Regions from separate parts of the Homo sapiens genome. Here region 1 is linked to region 2. Evidence: promoter capture Hi-C in 16 types of primary human blood cells and fetal thymus (Javierre and others, 2016). All regions are on one chromosome and are shown on one strand. Each heading gives the region's core, a stretch centred on a gene start or on the middle of the fragment in contact. The rest is flanking DNA. Distances are from core to core; before and after follow the strand shown. Region 1 has its middle 22 kb from the start of ZPBP2. Region 2 holds the start of STARD3 (StAR related lipid transfer domain containing 3).

Region 1 (7,109 bases), core at 1,330-3,829, 250 kb before region 2:
ATTTGCCTAACAGCCACTTCCCATTAAACTGCTTTGTTTGAGGAGCTCATGTGAAATGTTAGAAATAATTACTGGTGTTTAAGATAAAACTTACTATGAAAGACAGAATAGTTGGTAATGAAGAGAGCGTAGATACTGGAATATTCAATGTCAAGTCTGCCACATACCAGCTATGTGACTTTTTGGGCAAATTACTTCCCTATTATGCCTCCGTTTTGATGTGTATCAAATGTGAATAATAAGAGTATCTGCCTCCTATGATGAATATGAGAACTACTGAATACATCGGAAACACTCTGTGCAGTTCCTGGCGTGTAGTTCTATATGTACACGTGTTCATTATAACGTGGGAGTACATGCAGCGTTTCTTTTTGAACTCCATAGGCATGTCTCTCTTTTTTTTTTTTTTTTTTTTTGAGACGGAGTTTCGCTCTTGTTGCCCAAGCTGAGTGCAATGAGTGATCTCAGCTCACTGCAATCTCCACCTCCCGGGTTCAAGTGATTCTCTTGCCTAAGCCTCCTGAGTAGCTGGGATTACAGGTGCCTGCCACCAGGCCCAGCTAATTTTTTTTTGTATTTTTAGTAGAAACAGGGTTTCACCATGTTAGCCAGGCTGGTCTTAAACTCCTGACCTCAGATGATCCACCTGCCTCAGCCTCCCAAAGTGCTGGGATTACAGGCGTGAGCCACTGTGTCCGGCCAGGCATCTGTCTCTTTAGGATGGTTGGGGTGGTAGTTCTACCTTCAAGAGGGAAACATTTCCTTCTTAGGGGGACATAATCACTTTAGAATCCTACCACTAAAATGTTCATACTCTCTTTCTCACTTTTATGAAGTTCTACTGTTTCAAAATGAGATGTGCTATTATGGAAAAGAATAATGCATTAGCCTATTTCAGGGTAACCTAGTCATTAACCTGTGTGCCCAGTTTTTTTTATGCCGACAGAATAAAACTATCCAAACAACAGAGATTCATCCTCACTGGAATAGACACATATTCTGGATGTGGGTTTGCCTTCCCTGCTCATAATGCTTCAGCCAGCGCTGCCACCTGTGAACTCACAGAATGCCTTATCGACCATCATGGCATTCCACACTGCATTGTGTCTGATCAGGGAACTCACTTCACTGCAAAGGAAGTGAAGCAGTGGGCTCATGGCCGTAGAATTCGCTGGTCTTACTCCACTCCCCATCACCTAGAAGCAATTAGCTTAACGGAAAGGTGAAATGGCTCACTAAAATCTGTTACAGTGTCAACTGGGAGACAACACCCTGAAAGAAATGGGTTCTGCTTTACAGGATGCAGTTTAGGTTTTGAATCAGAGGCCACTATCTAGTGCTGTCTCCCTCATAGCCAGGATAGTCCAGGAATCAAAGAGTGGGTGTAGGAGTGGCTCCTCTCACTATTCCACCCAATAACCCACTAGAAGAATGTTCGCTCTCTATCCTGGTAACTTTGAGCTTTGATGGTTTGGAGATCTTTGTTCCCAAGAGGGGGATGCTTCCACAAGGAGACACCACAATGGTTCTTCCCTGGTTTGGAAGATGAGACTGTCACCTGGACATTTTGGGCTCCATATGTTGTTGAACTAAGCAGGGAAAAAAGGGGATGAGGTGAGAAAGGAGAGTTAATCTGGCTGGAGAGAATGATCCTGATGACCAATGGGAAACTGAGTTGCTACACAAGGGTAGAAAGGAGGACTATGTCTGGAACCCAGATTCTCTGAGGTACCTCTAGTTCTTCCATCTTCAATAGTAAAGGTTGATGGAAAACTACGTAGCAACCAAAAAACAGGTGTGGGGAGGAGAAGGGGTAAGAACAATAAAGATTCAGACACTTTGGCAATAAAATTTCAGTCATTCCACCACATAAAGAACCCACAGCAACTGAAGTTCTGACTGAGGGCAAGAATAACACGGAATTGGCTTCCCGCAGAAGGAAGCCATAGGTATAAACTACAACCTTAATGACCAATCACAGAAACAAAGTAGCTTTGCATATTTTCTCTTTGCTTCTTGTATTCACACCTTTATTTATTTATTTATTTATTTTGAGACAAAGTCTTGCTCTGTCGCCCAGGCTGGAGCACAGTGGCACAATCTCAGCACACTGCAACCTCTGCCTCCTGGGCTCAAGCGATTCTTCTGCCTCAGCCTCCTGAGTAGCTGGGATTACAGGTGTGTGCCACCACACCTGGCTAATTTTTGTATTATTAGTAGAGACGGGATTTCACCATGTTGGCCAGGCTGGTCTCTAACTCCTGACCTCAGGTGATCCACCCGCCTTAGCCTCCTGAAGTGCTGGGATTACAGGTGTGAGCCACTGTGCCCAGCCAATACCTTTATTTTAATATGCTATCCTTCTTCTCTCTCCTTTCCAGTTTTTAATATACAGATTGTTGGTAGATAATTTTACAGTTTAGTCTTTAGGTAAGAATATTCAGTGGAACTGTGACTGAATTTGAGAAGTATTTAAAATAGCAATAGAAACAATGACTGTTGGGACTACATATCTTTACATTTTGGGGAAACAGCAAGTACTTTTAAGATGGATAGATGTATCTTCTTAGAATATAAAATTGTGGCCAGGTGAGGTGGCTCACGCCTGTAATCCCAGCACTTTCAGAGGCTGAGGCGGGAGGATCACTTGAGCCCAGGAGTTTGAGATCAGCCTGAGTTCTAGAGAGAGAACTTGTCTCCACAAAAAAATTTTAAAAATTAACTGGGTGTGGTGGCACGTGCCTGTAGTCCCAGATACTTGTGAGGCTGAGGCAGGAGGATCGCTTGAGCCCAGGAGTTCAAAGCCTGCAGTAAGCTATGATTGTGCCACCGCACTTTAGCGGGAGCAACAGAGACCTTGTCTCAAAAAATAAAAATTGTTTTGTCCATGAACAAGAGTTCAAATGTGTATAGAAAGGTGCATGTGGACGTCAAATAGCCAAAAGGTTAGACTGTGACAGTTAGCAACTTATTGTCTCTCAGCTCCAAATTCATCCTTTTTGCCTGCTCTATGAAAATGAATCTGGGCTCTGATAATATTTTTCCTTTGCCAGCTGGCACAACAATGAACTGTCAGAAAGGGGTGCTGGAGAGACACTGTAGGTTCTGAGTTCTTGCTTTGGCAGGCTCTGGTAGCATGTTCAACTTCTCCATTGTCCATACCCTGCAGTGCCTGGTGGCTAGCAGCACCACTGACAACTCCTCCTCCTTCTGTGGATTTATTTATTTATTTAGAGATGATGTGTCACTGTTGCCCTGGAGTGCAGAGGCACAATCTGGCTCACTGCCATCTCTGTCTCCTGGGTTCAAGCGATTCTCCTGCCTCAGCCTCCCAAGTAGCTGGGATTACAGGCACCCACCACCACACCCAGCTAATTTTTGTATTTTTAGTAGAGACAGGGTTTCACTATGTTGGCCAGGCTGGTCTCGAACTCCTGACCTCAAGTGATCTGCCCACTTTGGCCTCCCAAAGTGCTAGGATTACAGGCATGAGCCACCACGCCTGGCCTCCTTCTGTGGTTTTATAGCAGAGTGTCTCTAGTGAGAAACTTCCCTATGTACAGCTTTTCCTGGCACCGCAGAGGGTGGGTCTCTGACAAGTTCTAGAGAGTGTATTTTTAGCACGACAATGACTTTTCTTCCATCTGGTGACCCATGGTTATGCTCATTTTAACAAGCTGGACCTCAGCCCTAGGGGATGGTGGATTTTCTTAGACACTCTCAGTCCTAGTGGTATTGCCTTAAAAATATATGTATATCTGTTATTCCTCTATTCTTTAGAGTTCTCCTTACATCTTACTAGGCAATTCCTTATTATTCCAATCCCTTGTTACATTTAATAATTCCTCATATTAAACTTCCTCTAATCAAATTACTGTGTATTTTCTGTCTCGAGATTGGACCCTGACTGATGCACATACAGTTAATAGATGGAAAATAATACATATTGCCATATTAATGTAGTGGAATAGAGGAGGAATGGAATCAAATCTTCATGTGTTAACAGAATTTTTTAAAATATGGGTAAAGAAAGTTGCAAAGCATACGCATTACACCTTTGATGTAAAAATTAAATGATTACAAAACTTAAGGCCGGGCGTGGTGGCTCATGTCTATAATCCCCAGCACTTTGAGAGGCCGAGGTGGCAGATCACCTGAGGTCAGGAGTTCGAGACCAGCCTGGGCAATACAAAAATTGGCTGGGCATGGTGGTGCGCCCCCTGTAATCCCAGCTACTCAGGAGGCTGAGGCAGGAGAATCGCTTGAACTTGGGAGGCGGAGGCTGCAGTGAACTGAAATCATACCACTGCACTCCAACCTGGGCAACAAGAGCAAAACTCAGTCTCAGAAAAAACAAAAACAAAAACAAAGACAACCCCCACCCAACAACAACAAAAAACTTACATGGGAGGGATACCTACCAATTTCAGAGTGGTGATTAATTCTTGGGGGGGATAAGAGAATAGTGGTAGAAGAAAAGTATAAAGAGGCTTTAAATGAACCTGTAATGTTTTGTTTTTAAAGATGTGAAGTAAACAAAAAACTGTAAGAATATAATGAAAATGAAAGGCAAGAGTCCATAATCTGCAACTGAAACAATTTGGCAGAAAAAGGTCAGCCTAGATTACATTTGGACATCTTCTCTTCTGGATATTCTGAGCAGGTTAATACACAGGTAACCTAAGAACACATATCTTGGTAAGAATTTCAGGATAGTCTGCTTTGCAGCTGATAAGAAAGCCTAAGGTAAGATAAAAATGTCCGGTGACAACACACAGGCTCTTACAAGAGATTTTATTAATCATTGATTAGAAAGGTACATAAACTGTTAGCCTTTTATTCCCCAATAATACCTCTGATAGGCTAGCTAATATGTCCATAGAGGCTAAATGTTTGTGCTCTTGAAAGTTTGTAATCAGTGATTTTCTTATACTTCAATAAACTAATGCTTTCACATACGACCAGAAAATTTTACTAAATCTGAACTAAGTAGATCCATTAGTTTTTCTAACTGCTTCAGACAGAAACATTTACAATACATGAAGATATGGCACCTGCAGTTCAAAGCATTAAGCTATTAACACCACATACATGCCAAAATGGTTGTTGAAACAAGCAAATGAAAACCAAATGTTCATTAGTTTATTAATAATACACTAGTGTTGGAAAATACTCTTGCAGAAGTACAAAATACAAAATTCTCAATACTGACTCTTTTGGTAGGTACAATCCTGTGAAATGTGACTTCTAAGTACTACAAATGTACACATACAGAATCAAGATGAAAAAGAGGGAGGCCAGGTGCGGTGGCTCATGCCTGTAATCCCAGCAATTTGGGAGGCCAACGTGGGTGGATTGCCTGAGCTCAGGAGTTTGAGACCAGCCTGGGCAACACGGTGAAACCCCAACTCTACTAAAATACAAAAAATTAGCCAGGCATGGCGGCGTGCGCCTGTAATCCCAGCTACTCGGGAGGCTGAGACAGGAGAATCGCTTGAACCCGGGAGGTGGAGGTTGCAGTGAGCCGAGATTGTGCCACTGCACTTCAGCCTGGGCAACAGAGGGAGACTCCATCTCAAAAAAAAAAAAAAAAAAGGGAAAGGGTGGGATTTTTTTCAGCAGCAAATTGTAGGAATGCTGTTACAACTTCTGTTTCCATTGAATAAGTCAGAAGATATAATAACTTTGTTGCCATTTTAGGGCTTTGTGTCTCTGCTAATGAGATAAAGAATATTACATTCATTTAATTTTGTTGTTAATGGGTTAACATTTGCAAAATATTAATTCAACACAAGCTTTTAATTCTACTGTGTTATAATATTTAAATAGTTTACTATGGATCGGGGTTAGGGGATGGAAAAAGTGTGAATCAATGTATCAAGGGGCAAATATTATCTCTCTCTCTCTCTCTTTTTTGAGACAGAGTTTCATTTTGTCACCCAGGCTGGAGTGCAGCGGTGCGAGGATGTCAGTTCACTGCAACCTCAGCCTCCCAGGTTCAAGCAATTCTCATGACTTAGCCTCCCAAGTAGCTGGGATTACAGGTGTGTGCCACCACATCTAGCTAATTTTTTTTTTTTTTTTTTTTTTTTTTTAGTAGAGATGGGGCTTCGCCATGTTGGCCAGGCTAGTCTCAAACTCCTGGCCTCATGTGATCCGCCCACCTTGGCCTCCCAAAGTGCTAAGATTACAAGCGTGAGGCACCATGTCTGGCTTTTTTTTTTTTTTTTTTGAGACAGGGTCTCACTCTGTCGCCCAGGCTGGAGTGCAGTGGTGTGATCTTGGCTTGGCTCATCGCAACCTCTGCCTCCTGGGCTCAAGCGATCCTCCTACCTTAGCCTCCCAAGTAGCTGGGACTACAGGTGTGTGCTATCACACCCAGCTAATTTTTGAATTTTTTTGTAGAGACAGGGTTTCATCATGTTGCCCAGGCTGGTTCTGAACTCCTGGGTTCAAACAATCTGCCTGCCTCAGCCTCCAAAAGTGCTGGGAGTACAAGCATGAGCCACCATGCCTGGCTGCAAATATTCTCAAGATTCAAAATAAGTAGCAAGTAGGATATAACCACAAGTTTACCTCTGAATGCAGATTCAATTTAATCAGTTCAATTACTTATTACAGCTATAATGCATAGAAATGTGGGGGGCATTCAAAGGTTAGTATGAGGAAGTTCCTGCTCACAGGAGTTTATTCTAGTAGGGGATGGTGGGGAAAGGATACAGAAGATAGAAAAGACATTAAACCTAGATTCAGTGCTGGAAGAGATATTATGGATTTAATATAATCCTTTCATTTTACAAATAATGAAAGAGGCTTAAAAATGTTAAATGACCAGTCTGGGCAACATAGTGAGGCCTCATCTCTACAAAAAAAATTTTTTTAATCAGCCAGGTGTAGTGGCACATGCCTATAGTCCCAGCTACTCCAGAAGCTGAGGCAGGTGGATTGCTTGAGCCCAGGAGGTCAAGGCTGCAGTGGGCTGTGATCACACCACTGCACTCCAGCCTGGGCAAGGCAGCAAGATCCTGTCTCAAAAAAAAAAAAAAAAAGAAAAAGAAAAAGAAAAAAGAAAAAAAGTAAATTGTAACAAAAATGTGGTTCCATGCTAA
Region 2 (6,757 bases), core at 3,795-6,294:
TGGGGGTCAACACTCGCTGCCTCTACTCTGCTGATCATTGGCTGCTCCCAGGACACACCACAGCCCATCGCCTGGGCGCCCTGTTTCCTCATTCTTGAATGACCTCCTTCCTTTGGGGAGAACTCTGGCGCTTCAGAGACTAGTTCAAATGTCACCTCCGGGGCAGAGCTTCTCCTCACCCTCCAGACTCCCCTGACCTTTCAGAACTCTGGGTCAGCACTTCCCTTATCACAGCTAGATGTCTCGAGGCCATCTGTCCCAAGCCCTTGAGGTCCAAGTCACAGTCACAGTGCCTGGCCATGATACATGTCTAGTAAGTTAGCCTGTGGATCCATAATGTCCACCCTGGAACAGGGAAAAGGGTGTGGGTTTGGGGTTGGACACCAGTCCTGGAGGCAAAAACCTAAGGCCATTCCTTATTAGATTGTGTGCCCTTGACCAAATCACTGGGTTTCTCTGAACTTCAGTCTCCTTTTCTGTAAAATGGGGAGAATATAGTACCTACTTCACAGAGCTTGAAGGGATTAGAAACAACACATGCACAGTGTCTGTGCTTAATTAATAGCAGCTATTACTACTATTACCCATGGGGACAGTGTTAGAGGCAGGACCCTGGCCAGGCAGGTCCAGCATAGCACTTTGCCCAAACTGAGAGTCCCAGCAGTACTGCAGAATGGAAGGGTAGACCCTGGCTTCAGGGGGCTGACCCAGAATGACACTTTTTTTTTTTTTAAGAGACAGGTCTCACTATGTTGCCAGACTGGAGTGCAGTGGCTGTTCACAGGCGCGATCATAGGACACTGTGGTCTCAAACTCCTGGGCTCAAGCAATCCTGCCTCAGCCTCCCAAGTAACTCTGGGTCAGCATTTCCCTTATCACAGCTAGATGTTTCAAGGCCATCTGTCCTAAGCCCTTGAGGTCCAAGTCACAGCCACAGTGCCTGGCCACGGTACATGTCTAGTAAGTTAGCTAGTCTGTGGATCCGTAATGTCCACCCTGGAACAGGAGAAAGGGTGTGGGTTTGGGGTTGGACATCAATCCTGGAGTCAAAAACTTGGGAGTAGGTTCCCAAGTAGTTGAGCCTACAGGTGTGCACCACTGCGCCTGGCTAGGATGGCACATTCAGGGTTACTGGCCCATGCCATCAGCCTCGGGATGGTTGGCTGACTGGCCCTACTATAGCCCTCCACAGAGGGTTTGGGAAATCCCCTGGAGAAGTGGGAGTGTAGGGAGAGGAGGACACAGCTACAGTGACAAATAAGACCCAAAGCCAAAGCCTGGCTCTGTTTCTCCTTTCCTTCTGAGGAAGCGGAAGGGGAAGAGTTAAGCCAAATAGAAACAAGACTCACCACCACACACTTCTCCCCCCAGCCGGGGAGGCTCTGCGGGTGCAGTGTACAGGAAGACCCTAACACACTGAGATCTACTTGCCCTCCCTTCCCCCTTGTGCCAGGCCCTGTGAATCATCAGGGATGCCCCCAGTTCTGTGATTCCATGACCCCTGACCCACTCAGGGCCAGTGAATCAGGCCCCACCTGCCCTCTTCGTGCTGCTATGTAAACCAGTGAGGTCAAGTTCCCAAGGTTAGTCTGGAAACGGCTAGTCATCTTCCAGGAGAGATCTCAGCCCTCTCAAGAAAAGGCCCCCATAGGGCAAGGGACAAGGGGTGGGGGGGTTGGGGGGATGGAAGGGAGCCGGTTTCAGCACAGGATCCTCCAGGCACCAACCCTGCCTGGACAAAGCCAGGATTAGCCTCTCCTCAGCCAGAAAAAGGGACACTTTTCTTTTGTCCCACTGATGTGGCACCTGCCCCCTTGGAGGCTGGGACCCCAAGGCAGTTTCTGGGAGACATGCAGACCTGGAGTCAGGAGACAGCTCTTTAAATCCCTGCTGAGTGATCTTGACCTTACCTCCCCTGAACCTCAGCTTCCTCATCTGTAAAGTGGAGCCAACAGGCTCTCGCATTCAGTGGAACAGGCACAAGCTGCCAGATGTGCCGGATTTTTTATCTCCCCCGCACCGCTCTCCCTTAACAAGTCTAGCTGTGTGAGAGCTCAACTTAATGCAACATGCGGGTTCCAAGGGCCTACAGTATGCTGGACACAGTGCAAGTCCTGGGGCCACAGGACCCTGTTCTGGTCCATCAGGGACTCTGGGTCTGGTGAGGAAGACTGGCAGATAAATAATACCATGCTGTGATCAGCGCTTTCAGGGAGGAATGAACAAAGGACCGTGGGCTCCCAGAGAAGGGATCATCTGACCCAGGCTGGAATGAGTGAAGTCAGAAAAGCCACAGGGAGGAGGGGCCATCTGACCCTGGCCTTGAAGAGTCAGCATCTATCAGCTGGAGGCAAGGAGGGTGGGCATTACAGGGAGGCAAAAGAGCTCCAAAGAAGGCCCAGCCCAAAGGCATGCACAATGGCCCTACCCAGGGGGCCTGGTCCCAAACACCAGGTACTAGGCCTCCGGAGCATAGTTGCCCCCAGGCATGGTCCCTGCTGGCTCCCAAGTCAAGGGATGCTTCCTCATGGCCAATACAGGAAAGGAATTGCCAGCGTCAGCAAAGGACGCTGCCTCTGTCTTCCTCAGCTCCGTCTCCCCTGTTCCCCCACCCAGCCACCATCTACTGGAGCTCTGTTCAGAGGACCCAGCTTTCTGATCTCTGAGCCCACTCCAGCCTCTGCCTCCCTCTGATAAAATCCTCCCATCGCTTTATAGGCCCCATTAACTGTCAGCTCCTCAGAAGCCGCCCCTGGTCTTTTTCTCCCTCTAGTTCCCAGATCTATACATTTCTCTAGATTTAATGCTTGCCATGTAACACACACACACTTCCAGACTGGTTTTCCTGAGCAGACCAGGTCTGAGCCTTTTTCACTCTTGAATCTTCACTCAATAAATCCAGACCCTGCCCCCAGTGTCCTCCACTCCAGCATTTTATTTATTGGCAAAGAGCCAGGCTCTATCCAATGACTAGTAAGCCACTTCAACCATCCTCAGGCAACTTATGAAATTAAAAATCATAACTGGTGAACTATGTTGTCCTTACATAATAGTAATAACTTTTTATTTATTTATTTTAGAAACAGGATCTCACTCTGTCCCTCACACTAGAGTGCAGTGGCACAACCATATCTCGTTGTAACTTCAAATTCCTGGGCTCAAAGGATCCTCCCACACGTACCACCATGCTCAGCTAGTTTTTTAAATTTTTGTAGCGATGGGGTCTCACTATGTTGCCCAAGCTAGTTGCAAACCCCTGGCCTCAAGCGATCATCCTGCCTTGCCTCCCAAAGTACTAGGATTAATGCATGAGCCACTGCACCCAGGCAACTCACTTTAATTTATTGAGCATTCTTGTGCCTAGCACTGGTTTAAGACCTAAACATACAATATTCCATTCAATCCTCACAACTCTATGAAGTAGAGACATTCCTACCTCCATTTTACAAGTGAGGAAATTGAGGCACTGACTTCATCAAGGTTACCAAACAGGTCAGAACCCAGGCAGTCTGATCCAGGAGTCTGTATTCTCAGCTACTATGCTATTATGGACAGGGTGCTACAGGACACAGAAGGGCAATTAACCTTGGGGGTTAGGCGGAGGCAGCGCTGCCTGCGCTGAAAAACATGTAGAAGGTAGCCCAGCAGACAAGAGAAGGAGGAGGTTTCCAAGCAGCGGGGGCTGGTGTGTGCAAAGTCATGAAGATACGAACAGCAAGGGTAGGCATGGCGCATGCTGCAGTGCCGTATTATTGGACCTTAGGGTGCACACAGGAGACTGCTAGGTCAGATCACAGAGAGCTGTGTAAATTGTGCTAGGGGTTCAGCACATAGGCAATAGAAAGCCAGAAAAAGGTTATCAGCAAGGAACTGGCACCGTAAGACTTGTGTTCTAAAAGGATCACAAGAGTTACAGTTTGGAGACTGGGTTGCAAGCTGCCAGGGCTGGACTGTTGGGAATTGACAATACATCAACAGCGTGGTAACAGAAGAGATGGAGCTGGCCCAGGTTTGAAGGATGTTCAGGAAGTTGGCAGTACTAGGTCACTTTTAAGATGTGGGACTTGAAAGAGAGGAGAAAGTGTAAGGAAATTACCAGACTTCCGGCTGGGTTGGGGTAGAGGAAGAATTAATCTGCAAGGAAAAGACCAGTTCAAGTTTGGACCCAGTGAGCTCCATGTGAAGCAGAGCTGTCCCAATGGCCGCTGGATGGGCAAGCGTGGAGCTCCAGGGAAGGGCTGCGCTGAAGATGTGGATCTGGGTATTTAGTTGGTGTAAAGCTGAAGCCGTGGGGGAAAATAAGACCACTGAGATTCAGTGTACAGAGCGAGGGGTTGGGCGACAGAGGAAAACGTGAAGCGGGACTTTGACCGACTGTCAGAGCGGTACGAAGAAAACCAGGAGACATTGACTAACCCAAAAATGCGGGGTGAGGGAACGTGTCATTAGAAATGAGTGTCAATGGTACTATGCACCTCTAAGAACTCAAGACTTCAAAGGGCCCTTTTAATACCAATTAGGAAGTTATTCACGGCCGTTTCGAAAGGAAGTTGGGGAGACACGGGATGACACTGAGACGCAGAGCTACCGGAATGCGTAGATGTTTTCCTCTCACCCCAGATTCCGACCCCTCCCCATACCTGCCCCTGCTCATAACACCCAGACACCTCACCCTCTCCTCTCCCCTCAGTTAAGACGGAGGCTTTGGAAGGAGATCCCGAACGTCCTCCCCGGGCTCCCCAGGATAGGCGGGGTCGCCAAGAGTCATTGCTGGAGACCCCAACCCGCGCGGGGCGGCGCGAGGCCAGACAGAGGAAGGGGGCGGAACCTGAGACGCAGCGGGTGTGGGAAGGGTCGGACGGAACCCAGCACGGACAGCGGGCGGCGAAGCGGGTTCGACCGGCGGAAGACGGCCCTCGCACGCCACCCGCTCCCAGCGACCGCTCCGGGACCCACCTGCTCCATGTCAGCCACGGCCCCGGCTCTTCCCGCCCCAACCGCAGTCCGGCTCCGCGGCCTCAGTAGCGCCTCAGAGCGGAAGAAGATCTTCCGGCAGCGCCACTTCCGCCGCTGAGTCCGCCCCCGAGAGCGAAGCGGGACTTGCGTTCGCCTGCGGCCCCGCCCCTTCGCCCCGCCTCCAGCCCCGGCCCTGCGCAGAAGCGGACTCAAAGGCCGGAGTCTAAGGGCCTACCTAAGGGTAGGGGAGTGGGAAGAAGACCAGGGCCGTCGTTATTAGGCCACACAGGCCTGGCACTGAGGGAAAAAGGGGAATTTCCCGAGGGGAGTCCTGTGGGGATGGGGAAATCTTTGGAGGAATCCAGTTATTCGAGAAGGACTTCCCCACCCCACCTGCCTCCTTCAGCCATCCCAAGCAGCAGCTAGAACTTCTGTAGTTCTTCCTCTGAGTGCCCCGAGCCTGCTGTCTGCCAGAAAGACTCCTAGACTAGAGGATTGGACAGTAGGGTCAAAACCCTAACCCTTGGTTGACCACCGGCCTTCCCTATCAGGACGCCCCATTACCTCCCTTTTCCTCCTGCTTCCCCTGAAAGAGGAGTCTCAGCAGTTATTTACAAAGATTTATTACAGCACGGGAGGGGTTCAGGCCTGGAGTCAGGGAAGAAGGGGAAAGGGGCAGAGCAGCTGGGGGACAAGGAAAACCTGGCGCCCCCCGCTGTGTGCCCCACCGGGGACATAAACTAGGCGGCATTCCTGGCATCAAAGCACAAAACGCAACAAAGAGGTCTCTGCCAGTCCATCTTCCAGGCACCCAGGAGGAGCAAGGGTGATTAAGGGAAGATTCCCAAAATGTTGAGGCTATGGAGAAAAACGCCTTAGTCCTGGACCCTGGTAGAAGCCGGTGAGAGAAGTGGTGACTTGGAATCCTCCATAGGAAAGTGGGTAGAAAAGGATCTAAGGGTACCTCAAGGTTCTCAGGACCTCCTTTCCCCAGATCTTAGGGTCCTGCCCTGTGGGTCTCCTGTGTCCAGGGGAGAGGATCTGGGGAGTAGAATTGTGAAGGGCAAATCCCTGTTCCCGGTTTTCTGGATTTTCCAATGTGGGCTGTCTCACATCCCACCTCCCGCTGGGTGAATGGAGGAATGACTGGCAGGGGTGGGCATCAGGCAGCAAGTGCCCAGGTTCTCTGGGTATCAGCCAAAGGTGGGCAAACAAGCAAACACAGACCAGCCTTAGTCTTCTAGAAGTCAGAAGCCGCAGCCCTAGCAGGCGAGGGGAAGAGCACAAAACAGGGTGAGGATAGAGTGGGTTTCTGGGGAACAGCGATGTCCCCTCCACTTCCTCCTGGGAGATGCAGGCTGGGTGCCTATGTGCCAGGCTCAGAGGGGGAAGGGCGCTGAGGTTCCTCCCCAGGCTCTGAAAGGCAAGCAGAGAGGGACTCAGGGCCTGGCCCCACCCACCAAGATCCCAGCCCCTCCTCCCCATTTCACACTCCCAAGCCTTACCACTTAGTGCTGGGTCTTCCACTTGGTCCTCAGAGCCTCCATCTCTCTCGGACTCATCCAGAGGGGGTGGGCGCTCCCAGGGCCCTTCCAGACCCTGGCCACAGGTTGTCTTTTGCCCAGCTGGGGATGGGAAAGAAGAGATAAGAACACAGGCTCTGCGTATCCATCCGGCTGTCCTGGAGTGTGAGCTAAGTGTCTGATGGCTGAGGTTAAGCTTTCCAGGGGCATCATGGAAGCATGGAGAGAGAACTGGGCTAGAACAGCTCTCCCAGCAACTAGCCATATGGCTTACGTAA

What was found. The method cuts DNA at HindIII sites, captures the fragments that hold promoters and counts their contacts. A CHiCAGO score of 5 or more calls a contact.
Region 1: a contact is called between a fragment that was not itself captured here and the fragment with the promoter of STARD3 in region 2, in 1 of 17 cell types (activated CD4 T cells). The highest score is 5.7, in activated CD4 T cells.

Annotation. Positions count from the first base shown.
Region 1 is chr17:39,887,127-39,894,235 of GRCh38, reverse strand. No RefSeq gene overlaps it. Among named protein-coding and RNA genes, the nearest start is that of ZPBP2, 22 kb to the right of the region's middle. The HindIII fragment of the contact is 6,437 bases long and covers 1-5,797 here.
Region 2 is chr17:39,635,431-39,642,187 of GRCh38, reverse strand. STARD3 (StAR related lipid transfer domain containing 3) reads right to left here and starts at 5,044. Exons shown (of 15, transcript NM_006804.4): 1 at 4,957-5,044. PPP1R1B (protein phosphatase 1 regulatory inhibitor subunit 1B) reads right to left here. Exons shown (of 7, transcript NM_032192.4): 6 at 6,462-6,581; 7 at 5,564-6,372. The coding sequence ends at 6,323. It overlaps LOC124903998 (a long non-coding RNA gene), which reads left to right and starts at 4,898. Exons shown (of 2, transcript XR_007065749.1): 1 at 4,898-5,197. RefSeq lists enhancers at 4,373-4,492, 6,276-6,757 and a silencer at 5,033-5,102. The HindIII fragment of the contact is 16,133 bases long and covers 1-6,677 here.